Regions from separate parts of the Homo sapiens genome. Here regions 2, 3 and 4 are each linked to region 1. The links are contacts of gene promoters, found by promoter capture Hi-C in blood cells and fetal thymus (Javierre and others, 2016). All regions are on one chromosome and are shown on one strand. The core of a region is centred on a gene start or on the middle of the fragment in contact, and the rest is flanking DNA. Distances in the headings are between cores, read along the strand shown. Region 1 holds the start of PLAAT1 (phospholipase A and acyltransferase 1). Region 2 has its middle 17 kb from the start of ATP13A4. Region 3 overlaps MB21D2 (Mab-21 domain containing 2). Region 4 overlaps MB21D2 (Mab-21 domain containing 2).

What was found. Contacts are between HindIII fragments. The CHiCAGO score rates a contact against its expected background, and 5 or more counts as called.
Region 2: a fragment that was not itself captured here is called in contact with the fragment with the promoter of PLAAT1 in region 1 in 1 of 17 cell types (megakaryocytes); the score reaches 6.3 in megakaryocytes.
Region 3: a fragment that was not itself captured here is called in contact with the fragment with the promoter of PLAAT1 in region 1 in 1 of 17 cell types (M1 macrophages); the score reaches 5.2 in M1 macrophages.
Region 4: a contact is called between a fragment that was not itself captured here and the fragment with the promoter of PLAAT1 in region 1, in 2 of 17 cell types (M1 macrophages and endothelial precursors). The highest score is 7.8, in M1 macrophages.

The regions. Positions count from the first base shown.
Region 1 is chr3:193,239,721-193,243,169 of GRCh38, reverse strand. PLAAT1 (phospholipase A and acyltransferase 1) reads right to left here and starts at 1,948. Exons shown (of 4, transcript NM_020386.5): 1 at 1,637-1,948. MGC2889 (a long non-coding RNA gene) reads right to left here and starts at 1,391. Exons shown (of 1, transcript NR_026877.1): 1 at 1-1,391. LOC105374280 (a long non-coding RNA gene) reads left to right here and starts at 2,147. Exons shown (of 3, transcript XR_924833.3): 1 at 2,147-2,275; 2 at 3,325-3,420. RefSeq lists a silencer at 1,797-2,046. The HindIII fragment of the contact is 3,333 bases long and covers 1,162-3,449 here.
Region 2 is chr3:193,569,935-193,573,467 of GRCh38, reverse strand. It overlaps a transcript of ATP13A4 not described here. Among named protein-coding and RNA genes, the nearest start is that of ATP13A4, 17 kb to the right of the region's middle. The HindIII fragment of the contact is 1,824 bases long and covers 851-2,674 here.
Region 3 is chr3:192,796,397-192,799,891 of GRCh38, reverse strand. It overlaps MB21D2 (Mab-21 domain containing 2), which reads left to right. Exons shown (of 2, transcript NM_178496.4): 2 at 242-3,077. The coding sequence ends at 1,506. Among named protein-coding and RNA genes, the nearest start is that of FGF12, 71 kb to the right of the region's middle. The HindIII fragment of the contact is 2,206 bases long and covers 270-2,475 here.
Region 4 is chr3:192,814,399-192,817,473 of GRCh38, reverse strand. All of the region lies in intron 1 of MB21D2 (Mab-21 domain containing 2), which reads left to right. Among named protein-coding and RNA genes, the nearest start is that of FGF12, 88 kb to the right of the region's middle. The HindIII fragment of the contact is 4,756 bases long and covers 1-3,075 here.

The DNA.
Region 1 (3,449 bases), core at 699-3,198:
TATGAACAGTTTATAATAAAGAGTGGCATGAAGGTTAAGTCTGTAATCTTTGTATAAGAAATTTCCCATTTCAACTGGCCAACTGGCAAAACAGGCTGCTGTCTTTATAGCTCTCTGTTGGTCCCTGGGGATGCATCAAAATAAATAAATGTTCCCTGCCGATAGGGACAGGCTGAACGTCTGCTCATGCCTAAGAGGCCACCCAAGTTACAGAAACACGAAGAGCACTTTTTTAACAACTACTCCCAAGAATGTTACTGGAAGTCTGAAACACAATCGCAGGTGATCACAGGCTACCCCTGGCCCAAGGCTTCTAATTAGGTTTCGACCTTTTCCCATTCCAGCTGCACTTTCCATCCATAATCCTCCTACACTGTGATGTTTCCATGAAGCCCTGTATTCCCAGATTGGCTAATTCATAGACTCTCAGTGCTGCAAAGATCCTTGGTCCAACACTCTCACGCTACAAAGGAGGGTTCCACTCCTTGGCCAAATTAACTATCCGCTGCCACAGCACTGTCATGCCTTGCTTGGAATCTTCCAGGGCTTCCCACCACTGACTCCCCATCTTGGTCCCCCGCCCTAGAATCCTGGCATCCTTATTAATCTCTACATTCTAGGCAAATCAAACTATCCATTATTCTTCCCACTCAAGAGTATTGTTTTGTTTTTGTTAATACTGAACCTTCTACCCAGAATGCCCATTTCCAAGTGCCCCAAATGACTCAATCTTAAAAAATCCAAGTCGATGCCACCTTCTCCCCCTCTCTCCTCCACTCCCCAGGTCGGATTGTCTTCCTCCGATCCGCCTTCTTTAGCTTCCACAGGCATCCATCTAATGGCCCATTCACTTCCTACACCTGCCTCAGCTACTGGTCTCTGGGAAATTGTCTCTTGTGGGGCATACGCTATGGAGGGATGCTTCTTGTTTTTCTCTATACCATGCGTCCGATCTTTTGGCTTCCCTGAGCCACACTGGGAGAACTGTCTTGGGCCACACATAAAATACACTAACTCTAATGATAGCTGATGAGAAAAAAAAAAAAAGCGCAAAAAAAAAACCTCTCATAATGTTTTAAGAACATTTACAAATTTGTGTTGGGCGGCATTCAAAGCTGTCCTGGGCCGCACGCGGTTAGTGAGCCACGGGTTGGACAAGCTTGCTCTATACCTTCAGTCTCCGGTGAGAGTGCCTCGCACAAGTAACTGCGGAGCAAATGTTCATTGAATGAAGGAATGAGGAATCCAAGCCCAGAGAAAACATGAGTGACTTTTTCCAGCACGAGTCATATTAATAGTCTCGCATGCCAAAGGAATATCACCATCCAACTTTCCAAAATCCAATACGATAATAATTACTTGTATTATTATTCATATTCACTTCAGTGAGGACAGTAGGCTTAAAAAGCCTTAAACAGGTTGGGTTTCTAGTCCCAGCTCTGCCACTTAATAGCTGTGTAACCTAGGGAAGAAAGTCTCTTGCCCTGTGGACTGAGTTCCCCAGTCTGTGAAAAAGAGGAGGGTGGATAAGCTCCGTTGTTCTCTAGTCATGTCAACTTTTCCCACTTGCCAGTTGGTTAGAACACGGTTGGTTGCCGGGGCGCCTCGAGGTCCTCCCCCACTCCGCCCAGCACACCTCACTCTCAAGCCGGGGTCTTCTTCTCGCACCGGGAGGCAGCTGTGTGTGTCCTGGGGTCTCTCTTGGCCTCGCAGCTGCCGACCTTGCCGCCGGCGGCCGCGGGACGACTCCATCTGTACCCGGGAGACACCCGGGAGGCAGGCGCCAGCCATCACTCGGGGCCGTCCTCCAGGGCCAACGCCAGCACCAGCGCCGCCACGCTGAAACGGTCCCGGCGGCCCCTCCGCGGCTCTGAGACGCCCGCACGCCGGGGGGCCGACGCGCTGGGCTCGGCGTCCGGGCGCTGCCGAGCCGGCACGAGGCTCTGACCATGGGGAGCCGCCCGCTCCGCCCAGGAGGCGGGGCACAGTCGCTCCGGCTAGACCTCGCTTGGCCCCGAGCCCAGCTTCGCCCGCCCGCCCGCCCGCCCGCCGGGGAACTGCACCTTCTCGCGCCCCGACGCAGCCGCCTCCGCGCGCGCACGCAACGCACGCGCTCCAGCGCCTACGGTCAAAGCGCCGCGCAACCAGTTATTCCGCCCCCGGCTCCGCACCCGCGTCTCGGACGTTCCCGCAGCCAACGTTTAGGGCACCAGGCGCTGTGCTAGGCGCCGCGGTTATAAAGATAATCGGTTTTGTTGAGCCCAGGAATGTTCGGGTACACCCATCATGAGTACACCCACTCTTCTAGCCTAACAAAAATTCCCTTAGGGCCCAAGGAATCATGGTACCTGCACCCCAAGAAAGCCTCTGGGTCTTTGAGTCAGCAAAGTGGCGGAGGAAGGACTGGCCCTAAAACAACCTCACTGCTTACACACACCACACCACACACACACACACGCCAGATAGCCAGCAGAGACCTCCAACCACACACACACACACACACACACACACACACGCCAGATAGCCAGCACAGACCTCCAGACCCCGCCCCGCCCCCCTCCCCCGGCCCCCCTCCGCCCCCACGCGCCAAATAGCCAGCAGAGACCTCCAGGATATGGCTGTGAGTTTAAAAATAAAGCTGGGGCAGGGAGAGTATCCTTTTTCTCACTGCTAAAAAAAGAGGCCAGGAATACTAACCTAGCTAAGTAAGGAACCCTTGAAGACTAAGTGAACTTTATGGAGCGCTGCACAGGACGTTGCTTCAACCTAGTCATAACTTAGATTTTTATTCTGATGTAAATGGAATCTCAGCTAAAAGGATTTTTTCCCACTTATTTGAAGGCTAAAAAATATCTCGCTAATTTTATGTATTTTGTCATAATGGGATAACAACTACCTAAATATGCAACTTTTTTCGTAAAGCTATTGGGTTGTGTTATGAAGGTTAAGGGTGAATCTGAGTGATCTGAAACTTTGGGTCTGGATTGGCACCTTTGGAAACAGTCCACAGAAGGACATTGAAAACGTAATTATTGACAAAGTGGAAACTAGAACACTTGAGAAGTTGTAGCTTTTTTTATGCATTAATATTTTCTTACATGTTCCTTAATATATATCCAGAGTTATAAGCTGAATCAGATATGCCTTTCAATACCCTTTTAATGTCTCAAAGAGAAAGCCATAAACATGCATTTGCTTTATGTTTCTCAACTATTTCGATGGAGTCATCACTGTAGGAAGTGGTTCATGATTTTATACAGGAGAGGTATTGTGAGCATTTATAAAGCCATCCTGCTTATGAGCCAAATTTATTATGTTTGCTAGGTTAATCTGTTTTCTCTAATCAAACACTTAATCATCCAGTCTCCTCTCTGCGTTATGGATTCATGAATGTGAAGTGAGGAGAGTTGCTCAGTCAAGGTAAAATGATAAATTATCTTTTCATTTTC
Region 2 (3,533 bases), core at 513-3,012, 330 kb before region 1:
TGTGGCCCAGGAGCCTTGGGAAGGTGCTCCAGAGAGTCATTTGTCACCAGATGGTGAAGGGCTGAGATAAGGCTGAGATAAAAGTCCTGGTGGGACCACAGATGTGTGTCTCAGATGCTGCTAGCATAGTAGATACAAATTATATATATATATATATATGTATATATATATATATGTGTATATATATATATGTATATATATATATATGGCTGTGGTATTCGTTAAAGTTCATCTGTGGTATTCCTTAAAGTTTTATATATTAATCTGTGGTATTTCTTAAAGTTTTGGTCACACTGTTTAGAGTTTTGCTAAACATTATATCATGAACATTTAAACCATGTCGGTGATCTCGGCTCACTGCAAGCTCCACCTCCCAGACTCAAACCATCCTCCCACCTCAGCCCTTACTCCCCTCCCCCCAACCCCTGCCCCCCACCCCGAGTAACTGGGACCACAGGTGTGCACACCATGCCCAGCTAATTTTTGTAATTTTTTTTTTTTTTGTAAAGAAGGTGTTTCACCATATTGCGCAGGTTGGTCTCGAACTCCTGAGCTCAAGTGATCTGCCCAGTTCAGCCTCCCAAAGTGCTAGAATTACAGGCGTGAGTCACACTGCACCTGGCCTATACACATTTGTAAGGCTTCCTATTCACATGTCAAACTGCCCTCCTGCCCTTTACATTCCCATCAGCTGGTTCCATCACGTGCATGTACTAACGTCTTCAGGGACCACTCAGCGGTGCATAGTTTCTGGGTATATGAACAAACTGGAGTACGATTCTAGTAGATCAGAGGCTCTGAGAATGTCTCCACTCTTGTCCAGACCTTGAAACATCAAGTGACTGAAGCTTGCAGGCTGTCCTTTGCCACTAAACGCAGATTGAATGTTAAGACACTAGGGGGCAGAGGCGTCCCACTAAACCGAGGATGTTCTGTTCGTTTTTTAAACCTAAACTGGTTCATACCATCCATCTAGATCCAAATTCGCACATTGCTATCATGGAGTATTCAATTATTTTAACAAATTAATAAACAAAGGCAAGACTGCTGTAAGTTTAAAATAGGTAGTTCTCAATTACTGTAACAAACATTCTATTCCCACTGCTTTTTTAAAACCTGAACTTTTTATATTACAATAGTTTTAGAGTTACAGAAAAATTATGAAGATAGGATAGAGAGTTCCCATATACCCCAAACAAAGTCAGTTTCCCCTATTTTTTTAGACAGGGTCTTATTGTGTCCCCCAGATTGGAGTGCAGTGGCATGATCTCGGCTCACTGCAACCTCTGCCTCTGGAGCTCAGGCAATCCTCCCACTTTAGCCTCCCGAGTAGCTGGGACTACAGGCATGTGTTGCCTGGCTATTATTATTATTTTGTATGTTTTGTAGAGGCGGGGTTTTGCCATGTTGCTGAGGCTGGTCTTGAACTCCTGGCCCAAGCCATCTGCCTGCTTGGGCGGCTTCCTGTTTTGTTAACATCTTACATTAGTATGGTGCATTTATTACAACAAGTAAACCAAGACTGATGTGTTAGTATTAACTAAAGTCTAAAGTCCATAACTCAGTTTTCTTTAGTTTTACCTAACGTCCTTTTTATTATTATTATTATTTTATTTCACAGGCCTAATGTCCTTTTCATGTACCAGGATTCCATTCAAGATACCACATTAGATTGATGCGTTATGTCTCCTTAGGCTCACCTAGACCATGACATTTCCTCAGATTCTCCTTGTTTGTGCCGACCTTGACAGCTTTGAGGGGTATTACGTGTTTTATAAAATGCCCTTCAATTGGGGTTTGTCTGATGTTTTTCTCATGGATAGACAGGAGTTGTAGGTTTTTGGGAGGAAGACTGTAAGAGGTAAAGTGCCATGCTTATCACACCATGTTGTCAGCATGACATATCAATTTTGAAATTAACCTTCATCACCTGACTGAGCAATATTTGGTAGGTTTCTCCACTGTAAAGTTACTTCCTCCTCACCCCTCATACTGTACACTGTGGAAGGAAGTCACTACCAGCAGCCAATGTTAAGGAGTGAATAGTTATGTAGCCCTTTCTGAGGAGCCCTGTGTGCATAAGTTATCTGGAATTCTGTACGGAAGATTTATCTATTCTCCCCATTTATTTATTCAATTGTTTATTTGTATCTCTCTTTGAACTCATGGATATTTCTTTTTTTTTTTTTGAGACAAGGTCTTGCTTTGTCACCCAGGCTGGAGTGCAGTAACGCAATCTCGGCTCACTGGCAACCTCCACCTCCCAGGTTCAAACAATTCTCCTGCCTCAGCCTCTTGAATAGGTGGGATCACAGGCCCACGCCACCATGCCCGGCTAATTTTTGTATTTTTAGTAGAGACGGGGTTTTGCCATGTTGGCCAGGCTGGTTTCGAACTCCTGACCTCAGTTGACCCACCCGCCTTGGCTTCCCAAAGTGCTGGGATTACAGGCATGAGCTACCACACCTGGCCAGATACTTATTTTCTACTTTGCTTTTACAACCATGTCTGGCCAAATTTTACACCCCTTTAATAATAATAATAGCTACCAATTATTGGGAATTTATATATACACTGTGCTAAGCATTGTATATATGTCATCTCATTTAATATTAGCAACCATCCTCATGGGAGATATTATTATCCTTTGGTCCCATATGATGAGCCTGAAGCTTGTAGAGATAAATAATTTCCCCTGACCACACAACTGGTACACAGGATGCAAGCTCTGGTCTGTGAGAATTCAGAGCCTGTGGGTTTCACCGCTATGACACTGCCTCCCTGCTTTACTCAAGAATAGGATATGCTAAGAGGCTGAGTTTAATTGTATGAGGAAAAAATAAAGATAAAGACTGTGGTGGTATTAGGCCTCTATTCCAGTCCTTTATCCTTCCCTTCTGTTCACTGTCACCCTGATAGTTTCCCCTTCTGATTTGTCAATGATAAAATAAAAAATTCAATAAAAATGCATTGAGATTTTGCTAGTATATAATTTATAATTAGCATGTCATACATGGTTCTAATGATAAATAATTAAGAAATAAAATACTTTTCCTGACAAGAAATAACCTATAAATCATGTTAAGACATAGGAAAACAACAATTTAGGCATATATTATGTGGCTTACTAAGCAAACATATTTTTTTGAGACAGAGTCTCAATCTATTGCCCAGGCTTGAGTGCAGTGGTGCAATTACACAATCACAGCTCACTGCAGCCTCGACCTCCTGGGCTCAAGCAATCCTCCCAGCTCAGTCTCCTGAGTAGCCGGAATTACAGGTGTGTGCCACCACGCCTGGCTAATTTTTAATTTTTTTGTTTTGTTTTGTTTTAGATAGAAGGTCTTGCTTTGTTGCCCAGGCTTTTCTCAGACTCCTGGGCTCAAGTGATCCTCCTGCCTCAGCCTCCCAAAGTGCTGGGATTACAGGCATGAGCCACCGCACCCTGCTGGCAAAGCATATTTGTATGCGTAATTTTTAAAAAATAAACTCTCCATTTTTGAATAGTTTTAGGTTTATTGAAAGATTGTGAT
Region 3 (3,495 bases), core at 123-2,622, 440 kb after region 1:
AACGATACTGCTTTTCACACTGAGAGAGAAAAATCTATCATAATTCTTGCATTTGGAAAAGGGTGGATTCTAGCACTAGTGAGAAAGTACTGTTGGCCAGGTCTCTGCAGCAGCCTGAGATTTGATTTAGTACTGATAATGAGTTTTGGTTCTTGGAACATCAGAGCATTCTGTTTCATGCATAAGACTCTTATGTCTGTGTTTCCTGTAATAGTGTTGTTTTTTTCTTCTTTATTTCCAGGAATGGTGCAAAAGCTGGACCAAAAGCTTCCAGTGGCTAATGAATACCTGTTGCTCTCTGGAGGTGTCCGGGAAGGCGTGGTGGACCTGGACTTAGATGAGCTTAATGTCTATGCCCGGGGTACTGACTATGATATGGACTTTACCCTCTTGGTGCCAGCCCTCAAGCTGCATGACCGTAATCAGCCTGTGACACTCGACATGCGCCACTCAGCCTTGTGCCACTCTTGGCTGAGCCTTCGGCTCTTTGATGAGGGGACAATCAGTAAATGGAAAGACTGCTGCACCATTGTAGATCACATCAATGGTGCCACCAACTACTTCTTCTCACCTACCAAAGTGGCTGACTGGTTCTATGACTCTATCAGCATTGTCCTATCAGAAATACAGAAGAAACCCCAGCGAGGGATGCCAAAGGTAGAAAAGGTGGAAAAAAATGGGACCATCATCTCCATCATTCTGGGTGTAGGGAGTAGTCGCATGTTGTATGATATTGTCCCTGTGGTATCTTTCAAAGGTTGGCCTGCAGTGGCCCAGAGCTGGCTCATGGAGAACCACTTTTGGGATGGGAAGATTACTGAGGAAGAGGTCATCAGTGGGTTTTACTTGGTGCCTGCTTGCTCCTACAAGGGTAAGAAGGACAATGAATGGCGGCTGTCCTTTGCCAGGAGCGAGGTGCAGTTGAAGAAGTGCATCTCCAGCAGCCTCATGCAGGCCTATCAGGCCTGCAAAGCCATCATCATTAAACTGCTGTCCCGGCCCAAGGCTATTAGCCCCTATCACCTGCGGAGCATGATGCTCTGGGCCTGCGACAGACTTCCTGCCAACTACTTGGCTCAAGAAGACTATGCAGCCCACTTTTTGCTGGGCCTCATCGATGACCTGCAACACTGTCTGGTCAACAAGATGTGCCCCAATTATTTCATCCCTCAGTGCAACATGCTGGAACATCTGTCTGAGGAGACAGTCATGCTTCACGCCCGGAAGCTGTCCTCTGTGCGCTCAGACCCGGCAGAGCACTTGCGCACCGCCATTGAGCATGTCAAGGCAGCCAACCGGCTGACACTGGAGCTCCAGAGGCGAGGTAGCACCACCAGCATCCCCTCTCCACAGTCTGACGGAGGGGACCCCAACCAGCCTGATGACCGTTTGGCAAAAAAACTGCAGCAGCTAGTGACTGAGAACCCGGGAAAGTCAATCTCTGTCTTTATCAATCCTGACGATGTCACAAGGCCCCATTTCAGAATTGATGACAAATTTTTCTGAGTGTTAGCTGACTTTTTTTTTTCCTGATTCTTAAACTCTGATAATGTGTCGTGTGGTTTGTGATGCTATCTTTCTGTTTTTTACATATCCAGCCTAGATTGGATTTGTTAAGAACAAATTTTAAGTTTCCTGGTTCTGCAGGATGGTGCAGGCTCTGAAACAGTATATTACTATTTCATATTCTGCCTCTGATTTCGTTGTTTACTTTTTGTAGTTATTGTCATGCTCTTTAGTTTGTTGGAGTTTTTTTTCTTTTTAAGGAGATCTTAAGCCATAGATGAAAATGCCCATGAATCCTCTTGCTTTTTTCTGTTTCATACTTGGTGCAAATTTGTTCATGGGTATGGGGAAACAAATCTCTTTCTGATGCTTAACGATTCTATCCTATTATTTTTATTATTTTGTTTTTGTCTTTTTTCTTATGAGCTTTCACCACTACTGATATTTGAGAATCATATGAACCTGGGAACTACTTGGCATGTTAGCTGGATTTATTTATTTTGGCCAGTGACCAGAGTAGTTTCCCCCCTTTTCCACCAAACAATGTAAACTTTGAAAGTGATAATACTACAAATTGTGTTTTGGAGCAACTTCATTGAATGTAATTGTCCTCAAATCAGAGAACACTGGGTGGTTTGAAGGGTGTCTTTGACAGTTTTCCAAGCAGAATTAAGGTTTCCAAATGTTAATTTTAGCATATGTAATTATTTGAAGCCTTATTTAAATCCTATTAAAGAACATACCATTATAATTATTATTTGCACTAATCTTTGCCATTGTCAGAATTGCAAAGTGTGTTTCAATATAAATTAACAACCACTCTCGAAATTCTATCATTTTTTCATTTTGCCCATTTCTATCAGTGAAATGATTCTTTGCATTTGCTTAGTTCTCCTTCAGTTGTGGGGTCCTGCTTTGCCCTCTTTGATATTCCTGGTTCCTGTCTTACTGAGAGAAGTTGTTAAAGCTTTATACATGTTGACCCCATCTAAAGCTGGGGAAAATATACACTTGATGAAGTAGGTGTCTTTGTATTTATTTCTTTTGGGGTCATAGAGGTAAGCTTTTTTGTAAAATCTCTACTCTTCCTGAGAGTTTTGAGAAAAACTGGCAGGAAGAACTTATAATCCCCAAATAGAAGATACCACGTCTGTTCAAAAGCAGGTATTGCTATAGAGCAGCACCCAGGAAATATCTGTGGGTGGCAGCCTTGGTATAGAGGTGTCCTGTCTTCATGAGTGAAGTTACTTGCCTGATTAGGTGCTGGAAGGTATTGGCTCCCTGTTTTGGTGTGGACTCATGGCAAGCTGGTGTTTAAGAGGTCAGGAGGCCTGCTGATCTTTCAAAGGACACCCATGATGTCTACTCATAGAAAGGGCAAGTAACGTGTTCATTTTGGTCTTGAATGTCCAAACTCAAGGGTTGGATTTTGGCCAATTGAAATCAGACATATGCGATCTTGGGTTTTTGCATGGAAATTAATGTAATGCTTATAAATGAAAAATGAAAACATTTCAACCATCTAAGTCAAACACAAAAATAATAAAAAAAGAAACATACTGGCCTTGAAATTTTGTTGTTGTTTGTAATCTGGGAATTATTTTCTTATTAGTATTATATTAGTATATTTATATATTAGTATATTTTCTTATTAGTATTATACTAACAGCAATTTTCAATAAATACAGCCATGGGCTTGCTAGTGTCTTTCGGACCAGTTGTCCATATAGTGAACAACCAACATTCAGTCTTCCTCTTTCCCCAGTTTTACTACTAATGTCTATCCGCCACATCATCCTTGTCCTTCTCAGGAAATGATTTCATCCCTAGTGCTGAAAACGCGTCATAATTGGAAAAGCTGATCTGCACAAACCATCTCCCTGGCCACAACATTAACAAGCGACACAGAATGTAAGCCGCTCCAGTCAGGGACACGCTCAGCGTTCCAAACTGGAATGCTGGGACAGAAACATACACTCTCCCTGGATA
Region 4 (3,075 bases), core at 519-3,018, 430 kb after region 1:
ATATCTGTTTCTTTCCCTTCCTTTCTCTCACTTCTTTCCCTTCTTCCTTCCCTCCTTCCCTCCTTCCCTCTCTCCTATCTACCAGGTGCTTTGTGTTAACTTTTCATTCAGAGTGTTTTCTGTCCCTTACAAAGCTGACAGAGTTGTCAAGAGGTTTCACCCACTCAACCCACATTACTTGACACACAGTTACTTGCATTACAAAGCACTGCATGAGGAGCTCTTGGTAATAAAGGGGTGACTCAAACACAGATCCTCCCCTCCAGGGTCACGTCTGTGCTGTTGAATGTTGAACCACATGACTACATTACTAAATAAAAACTAAAATTAAAAGAAAAACAGGGAGGGAAGTGATAGAATAGATAGAAAAAGTATTGGAATATTTATTTTTAAAAGTCACATGCCCAAATAACAGGATAAAGACGAGTGTTATTCATTAACCTACAGAAGTGTGAACAGAATGTGATTTTAAAAATACAATTACATTTTCTCAGGATTGCAAAGTTCCAGAAACTCTGCTTGGAGCTTTATGTAACTGTTTCAATTAAGTGTCCCAAGAACCTTATGAGAAAGATGATATTACCCCCATTTTTTTTTTAATGGGGAAACTGAAGTTTCAGAAAGTCAAGTAACTTATCCAGATGCCACACAGCTAATAAATCATGAAGCTAAGGTCCACATTCAAGCGTGCCTGTATCCTAAATTAATAATCTTTCTATCACGGCATCCACATCATCCTTTCTGGCATCCTTCTTTTCTGTCTTCCTTGTTCACCTCAAAGCTGTGAATCTTACCAACGACGATGTGACATCCCATCGTGACAGTAGAATTGCTGCAAACAGCATGTGGGCATTTGAAATTCACCGGCAAGAAGCACTGTGTTCTCACTCACTTTGAAAGCATACCAGTAAAATCAGGTATTAATTTTAAAAATTTATGTTCAACCTCAGGCCTTACTTTTTGGGTTGCAGCCAGTCCAGCAACTAAAGAAAAATTAGGAAGGCATGACCTCTAGTGGAAAGACTGAAAACTTCATGTGATTTTACTGGAGAGTTTCTCCTCAAACCACCTCTTGTTAGACTGGAATTATGGAATTTTTCATCTGAAAGTTACTGTCATAACAAGACTTGGGTCTGTGTACAAAATGTCATTTTTGTCACTATCTTAAAAATGGGATTTTTGCATCTCACAATCGTAGCACACCTGAGTCCTTTAATAACCTTTCTCAAGTCGGAACCATCTTTTTTTTTAAAAAAAAAAATTGTCCTCTCGTCTTTTTGCCACTTCACTATAAAACCCAAACTGGACTTTTGGAAGGGACACAATATAAATACAGCTGTCTGCATTTAATCTGTCGTCGTCTCTCAATTCAACCCTGGGACAATTGATAGCTTTGGAAATTGTACACCTCTATTCAAACTGTGTGATCTTTGGTTTTGAGAACTGAGCTGTAATTGTGCCCATCACTGCAGGTTTATTGCTTGGCTGCCAAGTCAGCTCCACACTTGATACTCACTGACCCATATATGTGCTCCCAAGCCAAGTGTGGTATGGGCGCCAATTGTCCTTAAGGATTCGGCTGGTGATGCAATCACTTTATCTATGCTTGAGATTGAATAGAGGACAAAAATCCATCCCTATCTGATGGGTAGAGGAAGATACGGGCCCTGAAAAAATAGCAGAAATCTAGCACAAATACATCATTTTCTTTCAAACTAAATGAATACCTGGGTGGTTAGAGATGAATGAATTCCCCAATTGTACAGAATGAGACCTGTCACATCCCTCCTGAATCTCAATTACTATCATGTTTCCAAAAGCCCGCCAAAGTTGTCTTCCCTGATTTGAAAAGTAGCCAATCTCAGCTCTTCAAGATCTTAGAGAATTACTGAGACAGTAAATTCCTTCCTCTAACTTGACAGCTTTGCCTTTCCTGATTTCATGCAGTTAAACTTTCTGCTTTGAAATTGAGAGAGAGGCAGACTCAATTTTTAAAAGCATTTCAACATTGCTAAACACATGTCTCCTTGGAGATTATGCTTCCATCCTTGTGGGGTGAGACATGGGAACCTGCATTTTTAACAAGCCTCTCGGTTTGAGACCCACATATGAAGCAGGGAGTTCTGGATTGAGAGTCAAGTACTTTGGGTTCTATTTCTGGCACCTGTGCCAGGTTCAGTGCTGTGTCACCTTTGCTTTCTGGGCCTTAGCAACCTCATACATACCATGGCAGTTGGAATAAATAACCTTGAAAGTCAGTTCTGGCTCCAGTAAGCTCCAATTTATTCATTCTTTGTGTGGGGAACACATATATAACTTAAACTTCATTCTCTGGAGACCAAGACTTAGCGAATTTTAACTTATTCAAACAACATCCTTTAATACTATGAAATTAAAGAAACTCTTATTTCTCCCTTAGTAGCCATCATTTGGTTAATAATTTCTGGCTAGAATGTTTGAATGCCACACTGTTCATCCACTGACTTGCTCCATTTTTAGATGGTTGGGGGAAAGTAGATGAAAGAAGCCATCTCTCAAAGTATGACTTTCCCATGTCAGCATTATGAGACTCATCTTTGACTTTGTCTAAGAATTTTTTTTTTTTTTTTGGGATGGAGTCTCGCTCTGTCGCCCAGGCTGGAATGCAGTGGCACAATCTCAGCTCACTGCAAGCTCCACCTCCTGGGTTCACGCCATTCTCCTGCCTCAGCCTCCCCAGTAGCTGGGACTAAAGGCGTCCACCACCACGCCTGGGTAATTTTTTGTATTTTTTTTAGTAGAGACAGGGTTTCACCGTGTTAGCCAGGATGGTCTCGATCTCCTGACCTCGTGATCTGCCCACCTTGGCCTCCCAAAGTGCTGGGATTACAGGTGTGAGCCACCGCGCCCGCCCAAGACTTTTTTTAATTGAGCAGGCATGGATTTAAAAACACTGCAGCTTTGTCCTCTTTTAAATGATCTACCCGTGCTTTTAAACTGCAAATTTCTACTTCTGCAGAGGGCTTTGGCTGGTTATTTCAAGTCTGATTTCTTTTGATCCGAACATTTTCAAGCTCAAACAATAGAGTATGTTTT